Linked DNA regions of Homo sapiens: region 2 is linked to region 1. The links are contacts of gene promoters, found by promoter capture Hi-C in human tissues and cell types (Jung and others, 2019). All regions are on one chromosome and are shown on one strand. The core of a region is centred on a gene start or on the middle of the fragment in contact, and the rest is flanking DNA. Distances in the headings are between cores, read along the strand shown. Region 1 holds the start of SOHLH1 (spermatogenesis and oogenesis specific basic helix-loop-helix 1). Region 2 has its middle 9.0 kb from the start of GLT6D1.

Region 1 (5,634 bases), core at 2,023-4,522:
CCAGGATGGGGCCAAGTCCCTCTACGTCCCCATGCTTCCCAGCAGACCCAGGGACCCAGGGAGGAGAAGATCAGGCCCTCCCTTCCCTGGAGCACATGGAAGTCCCAGGAGGAGACAGGATAGAAGGAACAGCTCCCATGGTGGCCTTTGCCCAGGACTCTCCCTTCCTCGAGCCACACTTCCTCCCTCCCGAGAGCACACGTCCTCCTTTTCACAAAAGCAGGCACAGCCCGGGGGCCTTGAATCAAGCTCATCCCTCAACACGTGGGTTTCTCACCAACACAAGGGCCTGGGAAAACTTCGAACCCCGTTTGCAAACAGCCCCCATTGTTCTTAGGGCTAAAGCACAGCCTGGCGCCGCTCCCCAGGCCAAAGGCACCCCACATGCACACCCAGGACTCACCTGAGAAAGGGGGCAGCCCACCCCGCACCTGGCACAGCCCCAACAGTGCCTCACACTTGTCCGTGCCCAGGGACGTGCAGCTCGCGGGGTCCCACTGCCTGGAGGACGCAAGGATGTGCGGCACGGGCTCTGGGCTGGCCGACGCTGGATCCAGGGACCAAGGACTTTCCAGAAACGCCTTCACATCTGGGGTTCTAGAAGGAGCAACATGACAAGGATCCTGGGTCTATTCCCCAGCCCCCTGGAAGGCTGCCCCCACCCACCCCAAGAGCAGAGGGCTGGACCCATCCCCAGGACACCCCAGGCACCACCCAGCATCAAGCCAGCCTCTGCCCAGGGGCCCTGGGCCAGCCAAGCTCCACAGCTGTCTACCCAGTTTCCCTCTGCCCAACTCCTCCGGTTCTAGATTCTTCCACAGCTAATTAGCCACCAGTCCCATGCCCCAGCCTGCTTTGGGGTAAAATGGGTACATTTAAACACAAGATGCAGACAGTCCTTCAACCTGGGGAGCTGCCATTCTGAAAAGAACCAAATTATCTTGACTTCAGAAAACTGCATTCCTGAAGCTGCCCATGGGGAGGAGTATGACACCTCACTGACCACCTGTAAATTCCCCACACACAGGAGCAGAAGAGATCCTCCCGGGCACCTCCCACCTCCACACCAGCCCAGGCCCTCAATTCTGCTGACCGCGCTCCCCCCTTGCTGGAGCTCGCCCATGTTGGTCACCTCACACCTGGCCACCTGAGTTGGCAGGGCCCTGGGCAGGTCACCACCTGCGGAGGCCAAGCCGGGCCTCCAGGCCACACCCTCCCGAGGACATGCCAGGGGGCTTTGGGTCTGCTGCTCCCAGGGTCACCCAGCCCTGGAGAGCGGGCCCCAGGAGACACTAACCGAGTCCCGCTGGACGCTCCCGTCCCAGGGTCTGGCACACCTGCTTGAATCTGACTCGACAACGTCAACTGTAAAACATCCTCCTGCAACGAGTGCCACATTTCCTTGGAGGAAGCAAGAATCTGAAATTTAAGTAAACATGTAAAACAAAGACAGAGACAGTCAGCTGAGAAACCCAAGACACGGTGACAAGACTGCTACCCCAGGGCCTGGAGGGTCACTGTGAGCTCGGTCCCCGCTTGGAACTTGGGGGCGAGAGTACAGGTTGACAACGAGGCTGAGGTTCCACCCCCGAAAGGCCCCACCATTCCTGAATCAGGCTGTGCATACCCAAGGGCCTCACTGCAAATGCTGGGACCCCTGACCTCACAGATGACAACACAGTTTCATTCCCCACACAGGTCCTCAGCCCCAGCACTCACGGGGTCAGCCAGAGCCCCCAGAGCCTTGGAGAGGGGAGAGGAGCCTCTCTCTTGGAGACGTGCAGAGAAATGATCTAGGGGGTGCTCAGCCAGGGAGGATCAGGAGACCCCAACTCTCCCCCAAATTGGCACGGAGCATCTCGGCAACCCATCAATGAACAGGACTCAGGGGCACAGGAGGGCTGGAAAGGAAGGCTTGCTCCTTTCCAGGAACAGAATAACAACAGGTAAGGCTTGAACAAATCAGGAAGTGCCCTGCCGAAAACGTGGCCTGCTCTAGCCGTGGAGACCCAGAGGGCTGAAGGAGACGGGGATGACAGGGGACACACTGCCTGCAAGGTGGTGAGATGTCCCATCACCGTGATGCCGGAGGACTGACGGCGTCTACCCTTACAACTCACAGCGTGCTGCTCCTGACTGGGCCCCAGGGCGCTGGCAAGCCGCAGGAACTGCACAGACATCTCCAGGACCGAGGCCATGTCCTCCCGCCGGCCATCGAACTGGGGCAGCAGGGCCCGCAGACGCTCACAGCTCAACGACATCCGCTTCCTGGTTCCGGTCAAGAAACAAATACCTCTGGGCCCTCCTGCCCTCCCCGAGAAGGGACAGCAACTGCTAGAACCTGCCAGATAGACCCTGGGCGCTTGTCAGGCAGAGGGGGCTACAAGATGACTCAGAGCTGCCCCCGTGGTCTGAAGCCCCGAGATCCACATCAGAGCACAGCCTGGGCCTGACCCCTGGACCTCGGCGACAGGCTGTCCAGCCCAGGCCCAAACCATGGCTGCTTTGCGGTGTGGAAAAGACAGCGAGGGTCAGAGGCAGTCAGAAGCACAGAGGGTCACAGGTGCACAGCCTCAAGAGGCCAAGGCTTCAGGATAAAGAGGGGCTGCAGGATGTTCCCCAACAGGGCTTTTCTGGTTTACTTGGAGATGTGCAGTCTGTCCTTCTCCTGGGCACAGGCCACGAGCCCCTCCCAGCTGCCTGACACCTGGTGGCAGCCCCGAACATAATCTCACCCGCTCCACCCCTTTACAGCGCCCTCACCCCTGGGAGGCACCACCACTCACCTGCGCTCCCTCTCGCTGATCACGTTCCGCCGAAGGCAGGAGCTGGGACCCTCGGCCACCGTAGGGGCCTTGGGCGGGCCCGAGCCCCGGGCCGAGTCCTCGCAGCAGGAGAGGGCACCAGACAGGGAGCCGCTGCCGAGAAAGCCAAGAGCACCGGGCCCTGAGAACCCCAGAAAAGGCCACCAGGAGTCCCAGATGCCAGAATGGGCGTCTTTGGGGTGCGGGTGGAAGCCAAGACTGGGTCACGTAGGGACACGGCCCGGCCCTCTCTGCACCCCTTCCCCTCTCCCAGGGTCCAGGGCTCCGCCCCAGGAGGCCCAGGATGGGTGGAGCCCAGCAACTTGCGGAAGAACCCCTGGGTACAGGCCTTGGGCCCCCAACCCCTTGGCCGCCAGCCCAATTCCTCACTTGCATCCCCTGACGGTAGGGATTCTGGAGACCTCCGGGTAGGGCTCGGAGCACCGGGACGCCATGAACTCGCAGCTGCGGAGCGACCCCACGCGCACGGCCCCTTCCGCAGGCAGCCCCGCCCCCTCACGTGTGCTCTGCCCACCTGCCACGTGCTTTCCACCTAGCCCACCCCACCCCCACTTGCAATCCGCCCCCATAGCGCATGCGCTCTAGCCCTCCCCACGCAGCCAGCCCGGGGCCCACGTGACCCGCGTTCCTGCAAAGAAGGTGCTGGAAAGGGACTCGGGGGGTCCACCCACTCTATGCCCCCGCAGGACGCCAGGGGAAGGGGCCCCAGCCCAGGTGGCCCTGCCTCTACCCTTACCTTCCCGGGGGTCGCCTCGGTTCCCACTTATGCGGTGGTCTCGGTGCCCTTGGGCACTTTGGAGATGCGGGCTCTGCCCTTAGGAGCCCAGCCCCTGGTGGGAGTGGGCGGGCTGGGCTGAGTTGTTTAGCCCAGGCCTGGGGGACCCAGGGACACAGGGAGGGGGAAGGGTACCCGCCTGCTCCCCAGTCGCCCACGCCTCCATTTTCCCCCAAATCTAGTACGCTTGCAGACGCTGCGCCTCAGGGTAGGGTCACCATCCACACTTCTGGGTCGCCCAGAACCAGGGGCATCTTGTCCCCACCCCAGGCCACCATCGTCCGTGCTCTTCCTCCCGCTGAGCTCTGCCGGGCACCCTCGGAACCGTCTGTCCCTTCACCTGGCCCTGCCCAAGCACCATCCCCGCTTTATGCCCTGGGGCCCCAGCTCGACCCCTCACCTCACACTCTCAACAGGTTTCTGCGGGATCGCGGGGGTCCTGCCCATCCAAATTCAGAAAGCTCCGGCGCCAGGTGTTTGCTCACCTCCCCGCTGAACTCCAGGAGCCGCCCTGCGCTGGGCTTGAGTCCCCCAGTACATACTTTTGGGGGGATGACGGAGGGAAGGGGGAGGTGGAGACCCTTCCTCTTTCACGGAGGTTGCGGGGGGCCCTCAGGGAAGCAGAGGGGACGAGGGTGGGGGGTGAGGCTGGACTGTTGGGAGGACATCCCTGGCCTGGCTCGTGCTGAGGTCGTAGCGGGAGGAGGTGGGGTGGGTGGCAGGGGCTCTCCTCCCGAGAGGGGAGGCAAGAAGGAGCCCGGGCAGGTGCCACCACACGGGGACGTCTGTCCGGGGTGCCCCAGTCTCCTGTGGAGAAGGCGCGGCTCTGGGCCTCGGGCTGGCATCCTGGACTTTGGGCCAAAGATGGGTGAAGGGTGTTTGGAGCAGAGGGAGGTTATGTAATATAAGGTGGTGTCTCCATCCCTGCTCCGCCCAGCCTTGGCTGCAGGTCAGACATGGAGGAGGACGGGGTTGGAGAGGAGGGCAAAAGCTCTCGGGGACCTGGGCCCCTCTCCCGGCCCTGCCCCTGGCCAGGGAGGGATGGACGGGCTGGCGATCTGGGGCTCCTCAGTGGCAGAGTGGGGCCAAGTTTTTGTTTCCCTAAAGCCCTCGGAATGTCATCAAACCTGTGACTCTCCTGCCGTTGACAACACGTGTAATTACTGCTAATTAATCACAGATGCAGATGGTGCGGCCTCTCAGTTTTTTCTGAGTTCCCCAGGCAGGAGGGCGTTGGCAGAAAGGCCACCATCTTGCCCCGGCGGCACCCGCCCAGGGGTGGTGGGACCCCGGCAGCAGCACCGGCCAATCTAGGGACCTGAGGAAAAACCCCCAAGATGCCCACGAGCTGTGTGGCGGGGGCACAGGCTGAACCTCTGCTGGGGACTTAGCATCCTAGACTTCCCCGAGTGTTCCCCACCCACCCCTCAAAAGCATCTGTGTTCAGCCTGCTGCCTCCTGGAGAAACAGGGAAGGACCCTCTGGAGAGACACTGGGGAGGCCAGGGACCACAAAGTACATGGCATGCGCCCTCCAAATGGACCTGGCCCTCCCCCTGGCCCTCGTGGGCACAGTCCTGGCTTAGTGAGGGGCCTGGTCCACCCTGCAAACCAACAAAGCTCTGGGGACAGAAATCGCAGTTCTCCAGAGCTCTGTGTGAGGCTGAGCCAGGGTGACGCATGTGTAACAGTGTGAGCACGTGCACGGGAAAGGGGGCCCGCAGGGGGACCCTCTGCTTCCTAGTCTTTGGCCTGCAGCATCTTAAGTTGGGGCCCCTCCCCACCCGTCTAAAGGTGCTGTGTGTGCCCGTCTGGGTGAGAGCACAGGGCGGGGTGCAGTCATCCCCCTCCCCCAGGCCAAGCCCAGGATGTGGCGCCCACCCACAGATGCCGCAGCCTGCGGGGGGTGTGGGGGCGGGGGGGCGGGGAGTCGTCTTGAATCTGGCTTGTGTTCAATGACCAGTGTTGACCACGGCAGAGCAGCACAAGCGGGAGGTGCTGACGGTCCCTGGGCGCAGCGGCTGGACGCTGGCGG
Region 2 (5,634 bases), core at 2,139-4,638, 50 kb before region 1:
GGTTATTCTTTCTAGTTTAAAGAAAATGACCCTTAGACAACATTTCAAAAAGTCAATAACATATTGTTTATAAGAGATACCAAAAAATGGGACATTGGAAGTAAAAATGGAGAACACTTTTCTATCAAATAAGAACCTAAAGAATGTTGAGAGTTGTTTGTTTGTTTTGTAGTTTTCAGCATGCAAATTCTGAACATGTTTCAGTAAAAATGTACATCTAGTATTTCATTTTTGGTGCTATTTTAAATGGTACTTTCTTTTTAAAAAATTGATTTGTGAAAGGAAAATAAAAAACTTGGGACCTCAATTCACCCATCCAAAAGAAAAAAAATTAAGCTGGAAGCTGAGTCATAGAAGAAGCTGCCTCTCCTTTTGTTCCTAAGCAGAAAGCTACAGATAAAAGGTTGAGTATCTTCACAGGTAGCTGCTCCATGTTCACCTGACCTTATGAAAAGCGTGGATTACTGAGCACAAGACAAATATATGATTGACTGTTTCCCTACATGTTCCTTTTCTCTTGCCACCTGTGGATGACCACACCCTCCTTCTTTTCCCCACCAGCCCACTTCTCCCTTTTAAATATTGAGGCCCTCAAAGTCATCTTTGGAGAAAGACACAGACCACAGACTGTTTCTGTGATTCTGGTTTTCTTTTCCTTAACATTGGCAAAATAAACTTCTCAATTGATTAAGACCTGTCTCAGATACTTTTTGACTTACAAATTGTGACCAACAGAAGGAACTCTGAGTGGAGGTGGTCCTTTGACAAATCTCCTGAGGACTAAACTCTGATTTTTTTTTTTTTTTTTGAGACCGAGTCTTGTTCTGTCACCCAGGTTGGAGTGCGGTGGCACGATCTCAGCTCACTGCAACCTCTGCCTCCCAGGTTCAAGCTATTCTCCTTAAACTGATTTTTTATCATGCCCAAATTCCTATCTAAGGGACCTGGGGAGTCATGCCATACAAATCATAAATTGTCATTAGCTGGGTTTTATTTCACCCTATATATTGTGACTTACTTTCCAACCTGTCTCTGGCATAACATTGTAAGACAAGGACGAAAATCAAAATGTTTGACCCCCAAAACATGTTTCTTTGCCATATCTTGAAATGGCCCTGTAAAGTTGTCCTTTGTGGGGGAAAATTTGCATCTCTAAATAATCTGAATTAATATAGCTAGATCTTTTTCTTCCAGGCCCTCCCAATCCTAAAGAGATTAACTAAAAGTCTAGCACCTTTTAAAGATCTGAATAGGAAACATTTGCCATCTATTGTCTCTAAGGGCAGCCACTATAAGACTCTAAAACAACCTTGGTCTCCACAATCTTTTATCTTAACCTGAATATTTCCTTTCTATAATCCCAGGTCTTTAGACAAACTCAACCAATTGTCAACCAGAAGATGTTTAAATTTACCTATAACCTGAAAGCACCTGCTTTGTCCACCTTTCTGGTCCAAAACAATGTATTTCTTAAATGTATTTGATTGATGTCTCATGCCTCCTTAAAATGCATAAAACCAAGCTTGTATAAAATGTATAAAACCAACCGCCTTGGGCACATGTTCTCAGGCCCTCCTGAGGGCTGTGTCATGGGCCATGGTCCCTAGTATTTGGCTCAGAATAAATCCCTTCAAATATTTTACCAAGTTTGATTCTTTTTGCAGACACTCCTATCGATGCTCAGTATCAGTTTGGGCTATCTTTATTGCTCAAATTAATAGGACAATTTGCTGAAGTCCGATTTGCTGAAGTCCAGGAGTATCCCCTTCTACCCCAGAGAATCCCTGATCTCCCAACATTCGGTTGAGATCTGAGGTTTCTTTTGCTGAGCAACTCCTTTTCTGGAGTTTCAGCTCGATTCCAACAGGGAAGGCGAGTTTGGGACTTTTCCTGTTTCTGAGACAGTAGAGAGCAGTCTTCAGCCTGGGCCCCATTTCTAGGTAAGTAGCTGAATTGGAGTTTTGTCTTGAAAATTCTCCCTCATGACTAAAAGTTAAGATTGACCACCGCCTGGTCTTCATTTCTGCTTCCATTAGAGAGCTCAGTAATCATATTGCCAGAAATTATAAGTTCCTCTTCAAAGCTTCTTTGGTCTTTCTTGCTCTGTACACAGCCCTTCCTGCTTAATCTGTAATGAGCACTTGTTTTTCTGCTTAATCTGTAACCTGCAAACCTCTTACTCTGTAAACAACTCTTCCCACCTAGTTGGTAAGGAACAGCCTCTCCCTTCCCGCATAATTGGCCTTATTCAATTTCAAACACTAGCCAATCGGGTCAGTTTAGACTGTGCAGTCCAACTCCAGCCAATGGGGAAAGGACACAGAAACAGGAACTGCATCAGCCAATGGGGAAAGGACACAGAAACAGGAACTGCATTAGGGGTAAAAACCCCTGCCCTCCCAGCTTGGTGTGCTCTTGCGATTGTGACTGATGCAGGCAGCACCCTTCTGCAGAAGTAAATGTGCCTTGCTGAGAAATTTTCTGCCTGGTTTTCTTTGCAGCACCAAGCATTTTTTTCTAACAATATAGTTTGGTTTCATTGTCGTTTTGGTCTTTCTCCCATTGGATTTGACCATCTCTACCTGACTTGGCCAAATCTGAATGAGAATTCCACACTATGGGTAACAAGCCCTCTGGATTGGCTAAAATTCCTTGAAGCTGCAAAAGAGAAAAAAAAAACATTCACTTGATTTCTCTGTGTGCTTCCTTTCTTAAAAAATTATTCTTTTATTTTTCTTCCACCCTATTTCTCCCAAAAAGGGGAAGCCCTTTTGCCATCTTTGGTACCAAGTGAAAAAAATGTCTACAGAAGGGTTCTAATTGAAGCGGCGTTGTTGTCTGGGGTAAATACCTGAGGTTTGTCATCTCACACCAGGGAAGTTGAGGATGCAGACACACAAGAAGTGAGTTTAAGATCAGAGGCTTAATAGGCAAAGGAAAGAGAAAAGAGGATAGCTCTCTCACCTGCGGAGAGAGAGGGGCGTCTGAGTGGGTCTTCCAGGTCCTTGGTGAAATGCACGAGGTTTTATAGACGAGCTTGAGGAGGCAATATCTGATTTACATAGGACATGAGAGATTGGTCAGACTAGGCATGCCATTTGCATAGTGCACAAAGAAGCTGGCCGACCCACCCTAATCTTTTATTATCCAGATGGGGTCTCTACCTGGCCAGTGTCATATTGCCTGCCTTTTACCACACAGGTGGCGACCAAGAAAAGGGAAGGGGGATCCTTCATGTTGAACAGACTTGGCTTCCAGGTATCCCTCTTCTATCACCACAGCTGCTAGCATTTACCTATGTAAGCTTTTAGCTTGTTTATCTATACTTGCAGCTTGATTTTTCAGGCTGCTTTTTGTTAGGAAAGAAATGATTGGGGGCTGCTTTTTATTAAAAGGAAACCTTGCTGAGGACTCTCTTACCCTCCTTATCTGCCTGAATTTCTTTCTCACTCCTGTATCATAATGACTTGGATCCTTAAATAACTCAGAATAAAGGCACCACTCACCCTGTGCGGGGGTGTTCTGCTTTCTGTGTGGAGTTTTCAGAGTCATGGCAGGTTTTTCTTAGGTCTAAAGTTCTGCTTTCCTGTATTGCATTACTTGACTTCTTTGACTTTTAGAGATACCAGAGATTACTCTGTACTGTGAGAATATTTGACCTTGGTGTGTGTCATGGCAGATGAGAGCTACAACGTTAGGGAAGGCTGAGGACAGTTTACAGGAAATGGTCATTACTACAGGGGGCCACTCATTGCACATTTAGATCAGAAAATTGTGCATGCTTTCTTGGCTCTGTTCCTTAGAGGGCTCCACCCTAAAGCCAGTGACCTAATCAAGCTCCGCTGAAAATACTACCTATCAAACTAAGTCACTTCAATAAAATTCTGTGTAAAGGAAATTTATGTCTTTAAAGGAAATTTCCATTTTGTAAGGACATCTCTGTCTCTGCGTCTAAACCACTAGGAACTTTAACTAAGGGGGAGACAATGGCTTCATTTACATAACAGACCTTGCCTTTTTTAGATCCAAGTCTGTGCCTTTGAGATGTACATTTTTTACCTTGCTTCACCTAAGTCATGTATTTGGAGATGTAAATTTAGAGTTACCTAGTTAACAATTGTTTAAGACATGGAATAGATAATCAAGAGATTAGTGGTATAAAGTAGGGAAGAAAAAAACTTTGAAAACAGGCAAGTGAAACATTTTAAATCCCTAAGATTTGCCTCTGTCTGTGTCTGTTAAGTCTGTGTGTTTATGTGTCACATGGAAACAATATTTCACTACCAATCATATGAAAGAGCTCTAATTAGTTGGCTTAAAGAAAAGTAAGTGTTTGTAGACTAATAGAAGCTAGCCCAGAGGCCTTTCAGCTCACATGACTTTAGTAATCTTTGGTAAGATTAATTTGGTAAATGTAATCTCACAATTCTCTCCAGTAATTGAAAATCTTAAAGTCATGTTGTGTTAAATTAAGTCATCCTAGGTTTTTTGCTGGAAATTAGGGTTTCTAAGAGAATAGTAGGAAAGTAAGATGCATTTTTGGTGAAGTTTATTTAAAAAACATGAGGATGTGGTTTTTGCTCAATGAAACATATTTTTTTTCTAGTTTAAAGGACCTTTCTGCTGGTGTCGAAGATAAAAACCGCTATTCACATCCAACCGTTCTTTTGTAAACTGGTGAGTTTGCATTGGTACCTCCTGGCTGGAATTCCAAGGCAAAAGCTATGGGACCTTTATTTGTGTGTGTGTGTGCGCGCACGCGTGCACATGTGTGATTGTGCGAGTGTGTGTGTGAGTGTGCATGTGTGTGGTGTGTGTGCGAGTGTGTGTGTGCATGTATGTGAATGTGTTCATGTGCATGTGCAAGTGTGTGGTGTGTGTGTGCGCAAATGTATGCATGTGCGTGTGCGAGTGTGTGGTGTGTGCGAGTGTGTGTGCACGTGTGTGTCATGTGAGTTTTGTGTGTGCGAGTGTGTGCATGTGTGGTGTGTGCATGTGCGAGTGTGTGTGCAAATGTGTCAGTGTGTGCATGTGTGTGTGCGTGTGGTGTGTGTGCATGTGTGTGAGTGTGTACGCGCGTGCATGCTTAGGTGTGTTTATGTGTGCATGCGTGTGTTTTGTTATGTGTTGTGACCACAAGGTACCAAATTGGCTTAAAAAAAAAGGAGTGCCAATAAATTAAGTAAATAAGTGCAAATACTTTTCAAGTTCATATGACTTCAGTAAATCTTTAATAAATAACCTAACTTTAAAATAATTGGTAAAATAAAATTAGAAATGTCTTCAGAATTGTCAACATACATTATTATTTAGATTTATTGGTCTAATGTTAATTTAATAAAAACAGTAAATCCTGTGTTATTGGCCAAAAAATTCATTTATTTAACCTTAAGATTCTTACTTAGGTAAACACCTGAAATTCACTGGCTATAAAAATGGTCAACAAGGAAATAACTTTAAATGATGACTGTAAGCCAAAATATATCTGAGACAGGTCCCAATGAATTTAGAAGTTTCTTTTGCCAAGGTTAAGGACATGCCATGTGAGCCCCCAAAATCTGAGACAGGTCTCATTTAATTTAGAATGTTAATTTTGTCAAAGTTGGGGACATTTGTCCACGACACAGCCTCAGG

Evidence for each region. Contacts are between HindIII fragments. The study calls those that stand out against the background at their distance.
Region 2: a fragment that was not itself captured here is called in contact with the fragment with the promoter of SOHLH1 in region 1 in 4 of the 25 tissues and cell types used here (H1 embryonic stem cells, IMR-90 fibroblasts, dorsolateral prefrontal cortex and 1 more).

The regions. Positions count from the first base shown.
Region 1 is chr9:135,696,209-135,701,842 of GRCh38, forward strand. It overlaps SOHLH1 (spermatogenesis and oogenesis specific basic helix-loop-helix 1), which reads right to left and starts at 3,273. Exons shown (of 8, transcript NM_001101677.2): 1 at 3,195-3,273; 2 at 2,787-2,918; 3 at 2,121-2,268; 4 at 1,298-1,419; 5 at 404-597. The coding sequence starts at 3,259. The HindIII fragment of the contact is 18,112 bases long and covers 1-5,634 here.
Region 2 is chr9:135,645,698-135,651,331 of GRCh38, forward strand. No RefSeq gene overlaps it. Among named protein-coding and RNA genes, the nearest start is that of GLT6D1, 9.0 kb to the left of the region's middle. The HindIII fragment of the contact is 6,544 bases long and covers 117-5,634 here.